Linked DNA regions of Homo sapiens: all the other regions are linked to region 1. The links are contacts of gene promoters, found by promoter capture Hi-C in blood cells and fetal thymus (Javierre and others, 2016). All regions are on one chromosome and are shown on one strand. Each heading gives the region's core, a stretch centred on a gene start or on the middle of the fragment in contact. The rest is flanking DNA. Distances are from core to core; before and after follow the strand shown. Region 1 holds the start of HEXA (hexosaminidase subunit alpha). Region 2 overlaps ARIH1 (ariadne RBR E3 ubiquitin protein ligase 1). Region 3 overlaps TMEM202-AS1 (TMEM202 antisense RNA 1).

Region 1 (4,491 bases), core at 1,346-3,845:
TATCCTTTGAGTTATAAACAATCCAGTTACACTCTTTTAAAATATACAATTATTATTGACTATAGTCACCCTATTGTGCTCTCGAATAGTATGTCTTATTCAGGCTACTTTTTTTGTACCCATTAACCACCCCCATCTCAAAAAAGAAAAAAATAAAGAGAGATGGGATTTCCTCGTATTACCCATGCTGATCTTGAACTCCTGGGCTCAAGTGATCCTCCCATCTTGGCCTTCCACAGTGCTGGAATTGCAGGTGTGAGCCACCATCCCCAGCCTGTGATCCATTTTTAATTAAGTTTGTGTATGCTGTGAGGTAGGGGATCATAGTTCATTTTTCCCACATAGGGATATCTATTTTCTTCATCACCTTTTATTGAAAATAACTTGCCTTCCCCACTAAATTAAATTGGTGTCTTCATTGAAATGGAGTAATAATCAAATGGCTCTTTTCCTGGACCCTCTATTCCGTTCCATCTATTTGTCTGCCATTATGCCAAAACCCCACTCTAGTGTATAGTAAGGGGGGATATTTTGGAAGATCAACAAATTTATCTTGTGTAACTTACTTTTATGTATGCATAAGAATATTTGGTTTAAAAATCTGGTTAAGTCTAAAAGAGCTCTTTCAGTAATAATTAAATAACTGAATCCCTGTAATCCACCATGCTCAGCCCCATTAGTAATTTTTATAGCGTCTTTATTTGGATCTAGCTCTTTCATCTTGTGTAACTCTTTTAAGTAAATGACTCCTCCCTTCTGGTACAGGTTGAATATCCATAAAAGGGTGCCTTGGCATGTGCTCAGTCCTGAAATTCTACTTTGATCTACTGCTCTCATCTTTGAAACTGCTCTAAACACTCCCCCAAATTATTGATCCTGTGGGCCTGATTATGAACTTGGCTCTTCTGACAATACTTCTCAAATCCTGTACCTTTGGTAACATCTCTCCTGACTGGCAGAGTACCCAGACACTTAATTAATGCTGATGAAAATTAAGATTTAAGCAAAGAAGAAATTGGTGTAAGAATGCAAGCCTTAGGATCTGAAACTTGATGACTGTGGGATCTAATTTCTGCTTCTTTTGCTACAAGCTCTGTTTTTGAATAATCAACTTTCAAAGACAAATTGCTTGATGAATCTCTGTATTGTCAGAATGTTTCTTTGATTTCCCATCAAAGCCATGTATGTGTAACTAGTAATTAGGTACCTACGACCTGAATATAAATTATCATTATTTCAGTAGCCCTTTATTTGTTTTTGAGAAAGGGTTTCACTATACTGCCCAGGCTAAACTTGAACTCCTTGGTTCAAGTGATCCTGCCGCCTCAGCCTCCTGAATAGCTGGGAGTAGCTGGGACTACAGGGATGTGTTATCATGCCCAGTGAAAGCCCTTTATTTTTAAAAGTTCATTTTCCTGATCTTTACATGTATTTTAATACTAAAATTAAATTTAAAAATTTTAAAAAGTACCTACTAACCAAATAATGCCACCCAATAACAATAGCATTATTTGTATTATGTTCTGGTAATATAGTGGTGAACAAGGAAGACAGGGTCTCTGATAACTGTGGAATTCTCCTTGATCACTTCTCAAGCCTCTCTTCCGGATACTATTTCTTGGATCTACAGCTGTCTTCCTTCCCCACTTCTGTAGTTCAGTCTCTCATTATTCTCTACCTCCAATAAAAAGGGGCCTCCTAACTGGTTTCTTATGCAACTACTCAACATGGTATTTCTAAAATGCAGATCTTTCGGGATGATTTTCAATTGCTCAGAGAATAAATTCCTTGACTTTCTACGTAAGGCCCTGCAGGACCAGGCCCCTGTCATTATCTCTGAGCACTCTCCATCTTGCACCCAAAGCCCCAGCAATATCTTACTGCTTTCAGTAAATACACACCGGGCTATGTGGGGTTTTGTCTGGGGAAAGGGGATGTGAGTTGTAACTAAGAGATTTATAGTCAATCTTGAAGGGAAGAGCTCATATTGGAGGCAATGGAATGCCTCAAGCTGGCTCTGAAAGTACACATTTTTTCCAGTCATAAGTAGATCACATTTGTGTGATCTTGTGATCCTCTCTCTAGCAGAGCCGTGCAGACTACCTACTTCCGGCCCTTTCTTGCCCCACGAAATTTCACATCACAACGACTTGTGGTTTTAATCCTCCGTTTTTCTGCTTCTGAAGTTACTTCAGCCTGGCAAGTCCTTTACCTCCCCGTAGGCCTGGCGAGCTGCATCACAACATTCAAGATTCACCCTAGAGCCATCTGGGAAACTTTCTTCTCCAGGTCGCCCTGCGTCCTCGCCTCCCCACCCCGTTCTTCTCGAGTCGGGTGAGCTGTCTAGTTCCATCACGGCCGGCACGGCCGCAGGGGTGGCCGGTTATTTACTGCTCTACTGGGCCCGTGAACAGTCTGGCGAGCCGAGCAGTTGCCGACGCCCGGCACAATCCGCTGCACGTAGCAGGAGCCTCAGGTCCAGGCCGGAAGTGAAAGGGCAGGGTGTGGGTCCTCCTGGGGTCGCAGGCGCAGAGCCGCCTCTGGTCACGTGATTCGCCGATAAGTCACGGGGGCGCCGCTCACCTGACCAGGGTCTCACGTGGCCAGCCCCCTCCGAGAGGGGAGACCAGCGGGCCATGACAAGCTCCAGGCTTTGGTTTTCGCTGCTGCTGGCGGCAGCGTTCGCAGGACGGGCGACGGCCCTCTGGCCCTGGCCTCAGAACTTCCAAACCTCCGACCAGCGCTACGTCCTTTACCCGAACAACTTTCAATTCCAGTACGATGTCAGCTCGGCCGCGCAGCCCGGCTGCTCAGTCCTCGACGAGGCCTTCCAGCGCTATCGTGACCTGCTTTTCGGTTCCGGGTCTTGGCCCCGTCCTTACCTCACAGGTGAGTCGGACTTGTCCCGCCCTGTTCCTGGGCCCTGAGAGTGCCTGCCTGGGGACAGTTCCCCCAGGGCTCCAGAGACGCCCTATGGGCTTTTGTCCAGCCCTCTGATCACAGGCACTCCACTTCCTCCTCGAGCTGCATTAGGTTTTCATCCAAAGATAACTACTATAGGACTACGGTTCAATCAGGAGATTAATTTATGGAAAATACTGTGCCAGCAGAAATCTAAGGTGATCCTTCTGACCGTGTTCAAGCTAGCCAGGGTCCTAGTGAGACTGTGAGCAAGGGCTGAGTAGAGACCAGAGAAAACACTCAAAATTGGGGAGACATAATACAAGAACTATGCAAAGTTACATACAAGTTTCTGGCACATAGAATGTTTGGCGGGCGGATCACGAGGTCAGGAGTTCGAGACCAGCCCGGCCAACATAGTGAAACCCCGTCTCTACCAAAAACACAAAAAATTAGCCAGGCGTGGCGGCGCGCGCCTGTAGTCCCAGCTACTCGGGATGCTGAGGCAGGAGAATCGGTTGAACCCATGAGGTGGAGGTTGTGGTGAGCTGAGATCGCGCCACTGCACTCCAGCCTGGGCAACAGAGCAAGACTCCCTCTCAGAAAAACAACCCCCCCCCCCAAACAAAACAAAACAAAACAAAAAAAGTGTAAATTGTGAAAGAAATCATAGAACATAAGGAAGTGAGTTTCCAGCGGCCACTTGGAATGGGATGGTAGATGTAATTAGCCGGGACTGAAAAGAGGGTATTCCAGGCAGGAAGAAGGGCTTGAGCAGAGGCACAAAGAATTATGATTGAGTTCAAAGTTCAGGTCTAGTGGATGTGATGAGTGGGGGCTGGGGATTGAGGAGGGATGAGGGTGGGGAAAATGTGGGGTTGAAGAGTCAAGAGCGCTTTAGACATTGGTTTCACATAAAATGGAAGGGGCTAACAGTTTTCTTTTAGGCAGCTATGTAATCAGTACTGAAAATTGTATTTGAGGATAATTATTCCACAGCACATTTGTAAGTCGAGCCAACAATGTAAAGGAATACAATTCTGCTGCATGGGTTCAAAATTTAGAAGTTTCTTGATAATCTGGAATCTAGCTCTTTGGTTATATTGTATAGATGTTATGGGGGTGGGAGCCACATTTACGGTTAAGTCTTGTAGTAATATTTTATATGATGTTTCAAGTGTGTTTAAATTACTTTCACAAAAGTTATCATTTGATATATAGAATTAAAAGCATTTAATTATACAGATGACCCTTAGAGAGTGACATTTGATTTGGGGAAAGAAACACAATCTCAGCATCAGGGTAGTCCTTAACTGGTAAAATGCATTAAGCTGGAGAGGATAAGAGGCCTGCTGTTGAGTGTGGTAGATCACATTTTCCTCTGAATCCTTCATGACAAATAATAGAGTGCCTTACCCAAGATTGGCACTCAGAATATGTTGATTTTGGTTTAGAAGAGTTTGAGCCTGGTTTATGGAAAAAAAAATCCGTCTAACTGGTATATGTCAATCCCAGTGCTGGGCACTCTGAAGGTTACAAGAAAAGTCTTAAGACCTAGGCCTAGGCTCTATAGTTCAATTGCGAAAATAT
Region 2 (4,491 bases), core at 1,261-3,760, 120 kb before region 1:
ACAAACATTCAATGATGTCACTTCAAAAATCAAGCTATAAGCGAACTAATAACATTTGGTTATAATCACAAGACAAAAATATTTTGATAACATATAACTATAGCTGGCATAAAGTGGGGTTCTCAAGGATGGAGGAAGAAAAAGGAAAGAGATAATGTCAAAAGGAAGAGACATATTAAAGCTATAAATGTAATCATTGTAAGATATAACATTTACATTTGTTACCACATGCATGTATTGCTTTTTTTTTTTCTTACAAATAACAAACTGGAGAAAGAGCTACAATAATTATACATTAAATACCATTACTGGCTGGGCTCAGTGGCTCACGCCAACACTTTGGGAGGCCAAGGCAGGTGGATCATTTGAGATCAGAAGTTCGAGGCCAGCCTGACCAACATGGTGAAACCCCGTCTCTACTAAAAATACAAAAATTAGCCAAGTGTGGTGGCGTGCGCCTCCCAGCTACTCAGGAGGATGAGGCGGGAGAATGGCTTGAACCCGGGAGGCAGAGGTCGCAGTGAGCCGAGATCACACTACTGCACTCCAGCCTGGGTGACAGAGCAAGACTTTGTCTCAAAAAAAAAAAAAAAAAAAAAAAAAAAAAAAAAAAAATTTATGAAAAGGTGCAAACGACATAAAAAGGCAATTCAGAAAAATGTAAATTAAAACAACTAGTATTTTCTTTACCAGATTAATAAAAATTTGAAGAGTTCTTTTTTTTTTTTATTTTTGAGATGGAGTGTTTCACTCTTGTTGCCCAGGCTGGAATGCAGTGGCACGATCTTGGCTCCCTGCAACCTCCGCCTCCTGGGTTCAAGCCATTCTCCTGCCTCAGCCTCCCAGGTAGCTGGGATTACAGGCATGCACCACCACACCCAGCTAATGTATTTTTAGTAGAGACGGGGTTTCGCCATGTTGGTCAGGCTGGTCTCCAATTCCTGACCTCGGGTGATCCACCGCCTCAGCCTCCCTAAGTGCTGGGATCACAGGCGTGAGCCACCACGCCAGACCAAGATTCTTAATAGTTATCAGCAAGGGTATACAGAAAATGGTAGTTCACACACATGTAAATATAAACATAACTTTTGAAAACACTCAGCCTTCTTTACAAAAACTCTGTAAGGGAAAGGAAGAAGACACAAATATGAGTGAATTAGATGTCCAACAATAGGAAAACTGATAAATTGATATGGTTATATTAGAAAATACCATACAATTTTTAAATCTATAGTGTACTGCTAAAGGAAAAAATAGCAACTTGCAGAATAAGGTAGAATTGGAGCAGAAGTGAGAAAGCACAAATGTGCCTCATTTTTATTTAAAAAAAAAACATTTTGGTTGCAGATTAAAGTCTATTGACATAAGAATGCATCATTTAAAAAAGTCAAATCTTTCTGAGCAGTGATTTACATCTAGTCAAGAAGTTCACATCTTCACCTCCTTAAGACTCCCCTTTTGTGATCTATTTAGTGGAGCATTAAATACCTAATACCTTTGGTAGAATCAAAAACAGATAACTGAAAAGGTTTCCAAGACCAGCTGAAAAAAAATCTTTAAAAAACCCAAAACATTTTAACACTATTGATTCGAAACATCCCTACTATGGTATATTATGAAGCTTCACTTCCACATTCAAGAAACTAGATCTCCTCAATATAGTATATGGAGTTTATAAAAGTATTAACTAACATCAGCATTTGAGTCACAATTTAGGCTGTGGTAAGATCTTAGGTTTTACAGCTAAGATTGCTGGTTTGAAAACCCAACAATCTTCACTGAAGAACAAATACATATTTTTGTCTGACTTTTCATTTGGGAAGCCTTGAGAAGCACTCTACTAACCTATTTAGGAAAACATAGCCTCTTCTTTTTAGAAGCATAACAGCATAGAAAATGATGCAAATATCTGCATCATTCCACCATCCCTATAGCACTCACTTTTCAGCCAATACTAGAATGACACATAAAACCTAACACTTAACCTTATAAGCCTTCCATTTCATCTTCAAGTGTTTGCAACGTATGATTAAGTTTTAAAACTTGCCTATAACTGATGTTTTAGGATTCAGTATAAAAATGCTATTGCCCTTCCATCCTAACCCTGTTTTTTTTTTAAGCCAGAAATTGCTATTATAACTGCTATCATTTAGCAAGTAAACTGATACAAATACTTAAGTAAATGGTACAAACATTTAAATAGAATTTCTTAATCTTCCTCATAGTGATGTCAGCGAAATAACAGGAAGATTTAGATTATTTTCATCAAAATATTCCAGAGTCAGGAATATAAATAAACATTAACACATAAATATACACACATAGCTCAATCTATCTTCTCTGTTTCTCCTCCCAGTTTACAAAATAGGATCCTTTATCATAGTTTCTGAAAATCAGCCAGCTCCATGAATCAATTAATACCATTAATATCCTCCATTTAATTATCTCTTCTATTATTCGGCATCTTAAAGACAGTGGCAAATGCCATTTACTTTGTTGCCTAAGTGCCAAGTAGGCTTCTGGTTTAAAACATAATAATAAAATTGTGCCCTTTACAAGTACATCACATTTGTCATGTCAAAACAAACTTTCCCACAAAGATTTATAGGATAAATGATGTGCCCTTAAATAATGAGGTACTGGTTGCCAATGTCTGTGTGTAAGTATGTGTGTTTAATGGTCTTTTAATGACTTGTCTTTGGAATGATTCTGTCCTACCTTTGCTGCTGCAGCCCGCCTGTCCTTTGCATCACTGAATTCATACTTCTGGAAGTACCCAATATGCACTGTAACAGACAGATGGACAGATCAATGGGCCACAGCGGCAAAGGCCAAAGAGACACACTTGATAAAAATTAAAATCAAGGTATATATAAAGGGGTGGGGAAAACCAGAAGAAAACACCCCTATCTATATTCCATAGTAAAATACCTGAACTTGGTATTTGCAACCATCCCATGCATATATCCAAATAAGCTATTCTTGATTATCACAACAGGCAAAATAAATCAGTATTTTTAATACCACTGACAGTTACAGATACAGCAGGCACTTTTGTAACCAGGCCACACAGTTTCTTCAAATAGAGATTGCTCTTTGGTACATAAACTATCACATCCATAGAAGGCTTTCTGCACCAAAATTAAAATGGCAATTATTGCAAGCAGGAAGTTTCTACTGTGACACTAAGGTCTGTGTGCTTAGAGTATGTTTGTATTTCAGCATTTTGCCATTCTACATTCCTGCCTTTATAAAAACGTTTGCTAGCACCACATCTAGGTAAGACAACTTTGGGGGCTTAAAACAATATGTAACAGTATTATTTAGGTCGATTACCAAACTATAATAGTAAGACATTTATATACAAAACTATGGCCAGGCACAGTGGCTCAAGCTTGTAATCCCAACACTTTGGTAGGCTGAAGTGGGAGGACTGCCTGAAGCCAGGAGTTTGAGACTAGCCTGGGCAACAGACCCCATCTCCAAAAAAAAATTTTTTTTAATTAGGTGTGGTGGTGTGTGCCTGTAGTCCCAGCTGCTCAGGAGGCTGAGGCGGAAGGATTGCTCGAGCCCAGGAGTTGAAGGCTGCGGTGAGCTGTGATTACACCACTGCACTCCAGCTTGGGTGACAGAAAAACAGTATCTCTTGAGGAAAAAAATTGTAAGATATATTTTTGTATAGTATATATATTTGTATATCATAGTTTATATAGCATATATAGTTACACCTCAATAAGCTTCTAAAAGCTATTTTAAAAAAACAAACCTTAAAACAATGTCTCAACATTCTAGCTCAAGCCAGTATAAATATTGTGTTTTGATACAGAAATTTTTGCCTGACATTAACCCAAATACCTGTCTGACCTGTCTTCACCAAGAGCTTACAGCCATGAAAGAACAATTTTAATTTAATCAATTGTTTTATTTTGCATGCAACTAAAATAAACTAGATCCATGCTACATGTTTAAGGAAGTTTCAGGAAACTTTTGTTTATAGGAGATCTAACCATTTGTATATTCTTTTGTTTATAGGAGATCTAACCATTTGTATATTCTTTATTATTTTAACCCATCAAGAACATGGACAAATAAAGAGACATGATAACCAAATGCAATCCATGATCCTTGACCAAAAGAAGAAAAGCTATAAAAGACGTATTGGACAAATGGGGAATACTGAATTAGACTTTTTTTCTGTGACAACTTGAGATATACCATGAAATTAACTCTCAAAAGTAGTTCAGTGGTTTTGATTATATTCACAGAATTGTGACAGTTGTGTCAACCATTAATTTTAGAACATTTCATCACCCTAAAAAGAAACCCTATACTCATTAGCAGTCACGCCCCATTTCCCCCACTCAGCCTCTGACAACCACTGATCTACTTTCTATCTCTATAGATTTGCCAATTCAGGACATTTTGTATAAATGATACCACACAGTATAAGGGCTATCGTGACTGGTTAATTTTGCCACTTAGGCCGACAAG
Region 3 (4,491 bases), core at 946-3,445, 81 kb before region 1:
CCGTCTCAAAAAAAAAAAAAAAAATTAAAACAAATTACATAATATAAAATCGAAAATTGTGTCCCCATTTAAAATGATATTGTGGAATATGAATTGACCTGGAAAGATGGTTATCGTATGTGGTTGAACAAAGAAAAAAGAGGCAAATTCATCCATTTTAAGTATATGATTCAATGAGTTTTAATACATTTACAGAGTTGTGCCACCATCACATTCCAATTAAAATGATCTTTCTTTTCTTGCTTACCTATATTTTCTTCTGCTTCTATGCTAGTTATGTATAAGTGGCCATTTTAAAAGTTAAATTCCCCCTTCAGTACTGACTCCTCCAAAAAAAAGGCAAATATAAAATGTCAAAATAATAGTAACGATAGCTAAAATGTTTTCCAAAGAATGAAAAAGATAACAAGCAAACACACTTTAATTTTTGTAGAGAGATTAAATACTTGCAGAGAGATTGAAGGGCCTGCTTTCAGTCTGTGTAAGTATGCCTATTTGCAAAAGGGCTTTACTCTCTTATCCCCACCTACCCTCTCTTTCTCTGACCTTGCTGATCCTCCCAATGTATTTCAGCTTTAAAAGGATAAGAAGTTTTAGTATGGGAGTCATTAAAAGTCCTAATTCAGCCTTAATTCCTAAAAGTAAAAGAAACTAGGCTTGATAAACATAAGGAAACATGAATTCAAGAAATAGATAGGAACACAAAAGAAAATACTAGTGGGGCATGATGGTTCACACTGTAATCCCAGCACTTTGGGAGGCTGATGCAGGAGGATTGCTTGAACCCAGGAGTTTGAGACCAGCCTGGTCAATATATTGAGACCCCATCTCTACAAAAAATTTAAAAAGTGGTGCTCACTGTGGTCCCAGCTATTCAAGAGGCTGAGGTGGGAGGATCACTTGAGCCTGGGAGATTGAGGATACAGTGAGTTACAATCACACCACTGAACTACAGCCTGGGTGACAGAGCAAGACCCTGTTTAAAAAAATGCTACTGGAATACATTGCTTTTTCAAAGATCAATATATAATAACCAATTGTTATAGCTGTGAAAATTACACATTATATACAAAATAAAAAGCACTGATTTGCCACGTTGGGCAAAACCACAATAATTTTCCAACTTTAAGCCACTTCTGCCATCATCAAGATATCAGATCTAAAAGTACCAGAAAAATAGGGATGAGACTTGAAATTTTCTAAAAATTTTATGCTACTCAGATACATTTTGCTTTACAGAAATAGAAACAGAACACACATAAAATACATATTTACCTGTGTTTCACTGTTAGAATGTAAGCTAGTGCTAGAATAAATATGAAAATATAGGAGAAGGGGCTGAAATGCCAAAGTCCTTTCATATCAGGAGACAAAAGATCAAAAGATACACTTTTCACATAACAGAATCACAGAGTATTATGACACAGTAGTTGGTTCTACTTCAACTTATATATGAATGAGAAAATCAGAACAATTATGACCTGTCCATAGTGATATATTAGCTAGTTACTATCAAAAAAACACAAAACTCTCATCTCTTTCATCATAGTGTAGTACACTTTCCTTTTTCTTTTTTTTTTTTTTTTTTTTTTTTTTTGAGATGGAGTCTCACTCTGTGGCCAGGCTAGAGTGCAGTGGCACAATCTCAGCTCACTGCAACCCCCGCCTCCCGGGTTCAAGTGATTCTCCTGCCTCAGCCTCCCGAGTAGGTGGGACTACAGGCACCCACCACCACACCCAGCTAATTTTTATGTTTTTAGTAGAGACGGGGTTTCATCATGTTGGCCAGGATGGTCTCGAGCTCTTGACCTCGTGACCCACCCACCTCGGCCTCCCAAAGTGCTGGGATTACAGGCATCAGCCACCACGCCTGGCCTACTTTTCTTTAATCCTTGCTTTTATAGGAGACAATAGAGTAGAGGCTCTGGAGTCTAAATGCTTGATTTCAAATCCTACGTCACCACCTAACTAGTTATGTAATTTTGGGCAAGTTACTCAATATTTCTGGGTCTTATCTGTATAGTGGAGGATCTAATAGTACTCAAAATAAAAGTATAACAATTGATATATTGTATGTAAAATGCTTAATACAGTGCCTGGCGCATGGTAAGCATTCAATAAACACTAGCTATTTGTTACTCAGTGTAAATAAAGTTTTTTTGGAGTTTTGTTTTTTTTTTTTTTTTTTTTAGATGGAGTCTCGTTCCGTCGCCTAGGCTGGAGTGCAATGGTGTGATCTAGGCTCACTGCAACTTCCGCCTCCTGGGTTCAAGTGATTCTCCTGCCTCAGCCTCCTGAGTAGCTGGGATTACAGGAGCCCACCACCATGCCGGACTAATTTTTGTATTTTTAGTAGAGACAGGATTTCACCATGCTGGCCAGGCTGGTTTCGAACTCTTGACCTCAGGTGATCCGCACACCTCAGCCTTCCAAAGTGCTGGGATTACAGATGTGAGCAACTGCACCCAGCCTAAATAAAGTTTTTAAATGATAACATCACGGGCAAGAGTGTCACTAAAAATGTGTAAAACAAGGGGTTGAAGAAGTTGAATTTGTGTATGGAAGCAGAGAAGAGAGAAAAGGGCATGGTGTGGAGAGGGAAATTATGAGTCAGGAAACAAACTAGAGTTAATTACAGTAAGATAATCAGAAGAGAAGTGGACCATAGGATAATTTTATTTTGTTTTATTTATTTAATTTTTGAAACAGGGCCTCACTCTGTCTCCCAGGCTGGAGTGCAGTGGTGTGATCATGGTTCATTGCAGCCTCAACCTCGTGGGCTCAAATGATCCTCCCACCTCAGCCTCCTGAGTAGCTGGGACTACCGGCGCACGCCACCACACCCAGCTAACTTTTTAAAATTTTTTGTAGGGACAGGGTCTCACTATATTGCCCAGGCTGGTCTCGAACTCCTGGACTCAAGGATCCTCTGGTCTTATTCTCCCAAAGTGCTGGGATTATAGGCATGAGCCACCATGCCCAGGCTAAGGCAAATCTTACCATAACAATTAGTTCTTAACAAACCAACCAACAAACTACATCCAGGCATTGTGGCTCACGCCTATAATCCCAGCACTTTGGGAGGTCGAGGCGGGGGGATCACCTGAGGTCAGGAGTTCCAGACCAGCCTAACATGGTGAAACCCCATCTCTACTAAAAATACAAAAATTAGTTGGGCGTGGTTGCGGGCACCTGTAATCCCAGCTACTCAGGAGGCTGAGGCAGGAGAATTGCTTGAACCCAGGAGGCAGAGGTTGCAGTGAGCCGAGATTGTGCCATTGCACTCCAGCCTGGGCAACAAGAGCTAAACTCCATCTCAAAAAAAAAAAAAAAAAAAAAAAAAATATATATATATATATATATATATATTCTAAAAGCTGGACCAGTATGCTGTATAACATGAATTATATCACCCTACCAAACAGTTAAAGGCCAGAAAGTTTGGTTCTGGAGTCAGAGCCAAAACTGTTTCAGGTGGTAGCTGCAGGGATACCCATTAACCACTGGTAACAAAGAGACTTTTGTTCACATATTTATAGTATTTTGTCCCCAGTTTTTATAGGAAAATTTGTTCAAAGTTACCAAAACAATGATAGCACTCTTAAGAGTTCTATGGACCCCATCTTGAACCTTTCTTCTGAGATGGCAGTGTCTATGTAAGCTCTTTATGTGCCCTTAAAAACAGCTAGAGGTATTAGAAATTAGAATCTTTATAATCAACTCTTGGTTCCTCAGAATGCCCAAACAAGTAAAATTGACTGAGTTTGGAGCTGGAAGGGACTTTAGACATCCCTAATTTTACAGAAGGGAAAACTGAGGCTCCACAGGGTAAACCAACTTGCCTGTCATCAAAGTAACCAATAGCAGAGCTGGCACTAGAATTTCAGTCACCTAATTTCTAGTGCAATGCTATTTCCACTGTCAAAAGTTATTAAAATTGTATATTTAAATGGGTCTTTTAGAAAATTTAGTCCAGAGATTCCTAAATAATTACCCAGGAGCTGGTCCTGGATTGGCTGTAAAAAATTATTAGTAGTGCTTCTGAGAGATACATATCTTTGGCTCCATCTTCAGAGATTCTGATTAAGTATGATCAGGATATGGAATCTGTATTGTTTAAAACTTCTGAGTTATTCTCTCAATCAGCTAGGCCTAGGAAGCATTCTCCAGACCAGTCATTTATCAGATGTACCAGTACCATCAATAACATTAGTATAGCTTCTGCTTGAATACCTTCAATATAAAATCTATTACATAAACAAGTCCTTGATAGTATGATATCTAAGCAAAGGAGGATGGGGACGAGGTTTAAATTCTATTTTAAACTTTAGAAACCTCTACTCAAGTTTAGGCAGAGAAGTAGGATTTCTTCGGCAGGGCACCATAGCTCACGCCTGTAATCCCAGCACTTTGGAAGGCCGAGGTGGGCAGATCACCTGAGGTCAGGAGTTCGAGACCAGCCTGGCCAACATAGTGGAACCCCGTCTCTAC

What was found. Contacts are between HindIII fragments. The CHiCAGO score rates a contact against its expected background, and 5 or more counts as called.
Region 2: a fragment that was not itself captured here is called in contact with the fragment with the promoter of HEXA in region 1 in 8 of 17 cell types (total B cells, naive CD4 T cells, M1 macrophages and 5 more); the score reaches 9.1 in total B cells.
Region 3: a contact is called between a fragment that was not itself captured here and the fragment with the promoter of HEXA in region 1, in 7 of 17 cell types (M1 macrophages, M0 macrophages, M2 macrophages and 4 more). The highest score is 7.2, in M1 macrophages.

The regions. Positions count from the first base shown.
Region 1 is chr15:72,374,118-72,378,608 of GRCh38, reverse strand. HEXA (hexosaminidase subunit alpha) reads left to right here and starts at 2,595. Exons shown (of 14, transcript NM_000520.6): 1 at 2,595-2,889. The coding sequence starts at 2,637. It overlaps HEXA-AS1 (HEXA antisense RNA 1), which reads right to left and starts at 2,496. Exons shown (of 1, transcript NR_027262.1): 1 at 1-2,496. RefSeq lists enhancers at 1,836-1,885, 2,216-2,355, 2,247-2,803, 2,804-3,359. The HindIII fragment of the contact is 8,315 bases long and covers 1-4,491 here.
Region 2 is chr15:72,495,086-72,499,576 of GRCh38, reverse strand. The region is part of intron 1 of ARIH1 (ariadne RBR E3 ubiquitin protein ligase 1); the gene reads right to left. Among named protein-coding and RNA genes, the nearest start is that of ARIH1, 23 kb to the right of the region's middle. The HindIII fragment of the contact is 1,773 bases long and covers 1,624-3,396 here.
Region 3 is chr15:72,454,535-72,459,025 of GRCh38, reverse strand. All of the region lies in intron 1 of TMEM202-AS1 (TMEM202 antisense RNA 1), which reads left to right. Among named protein-coding and RNA genes, the nearest start is that of TMEM202-AS1, 17 kb to the left of the region's middle. The HindIII fragment of the contact is 7,934 bases long and covers 1-4,491 here.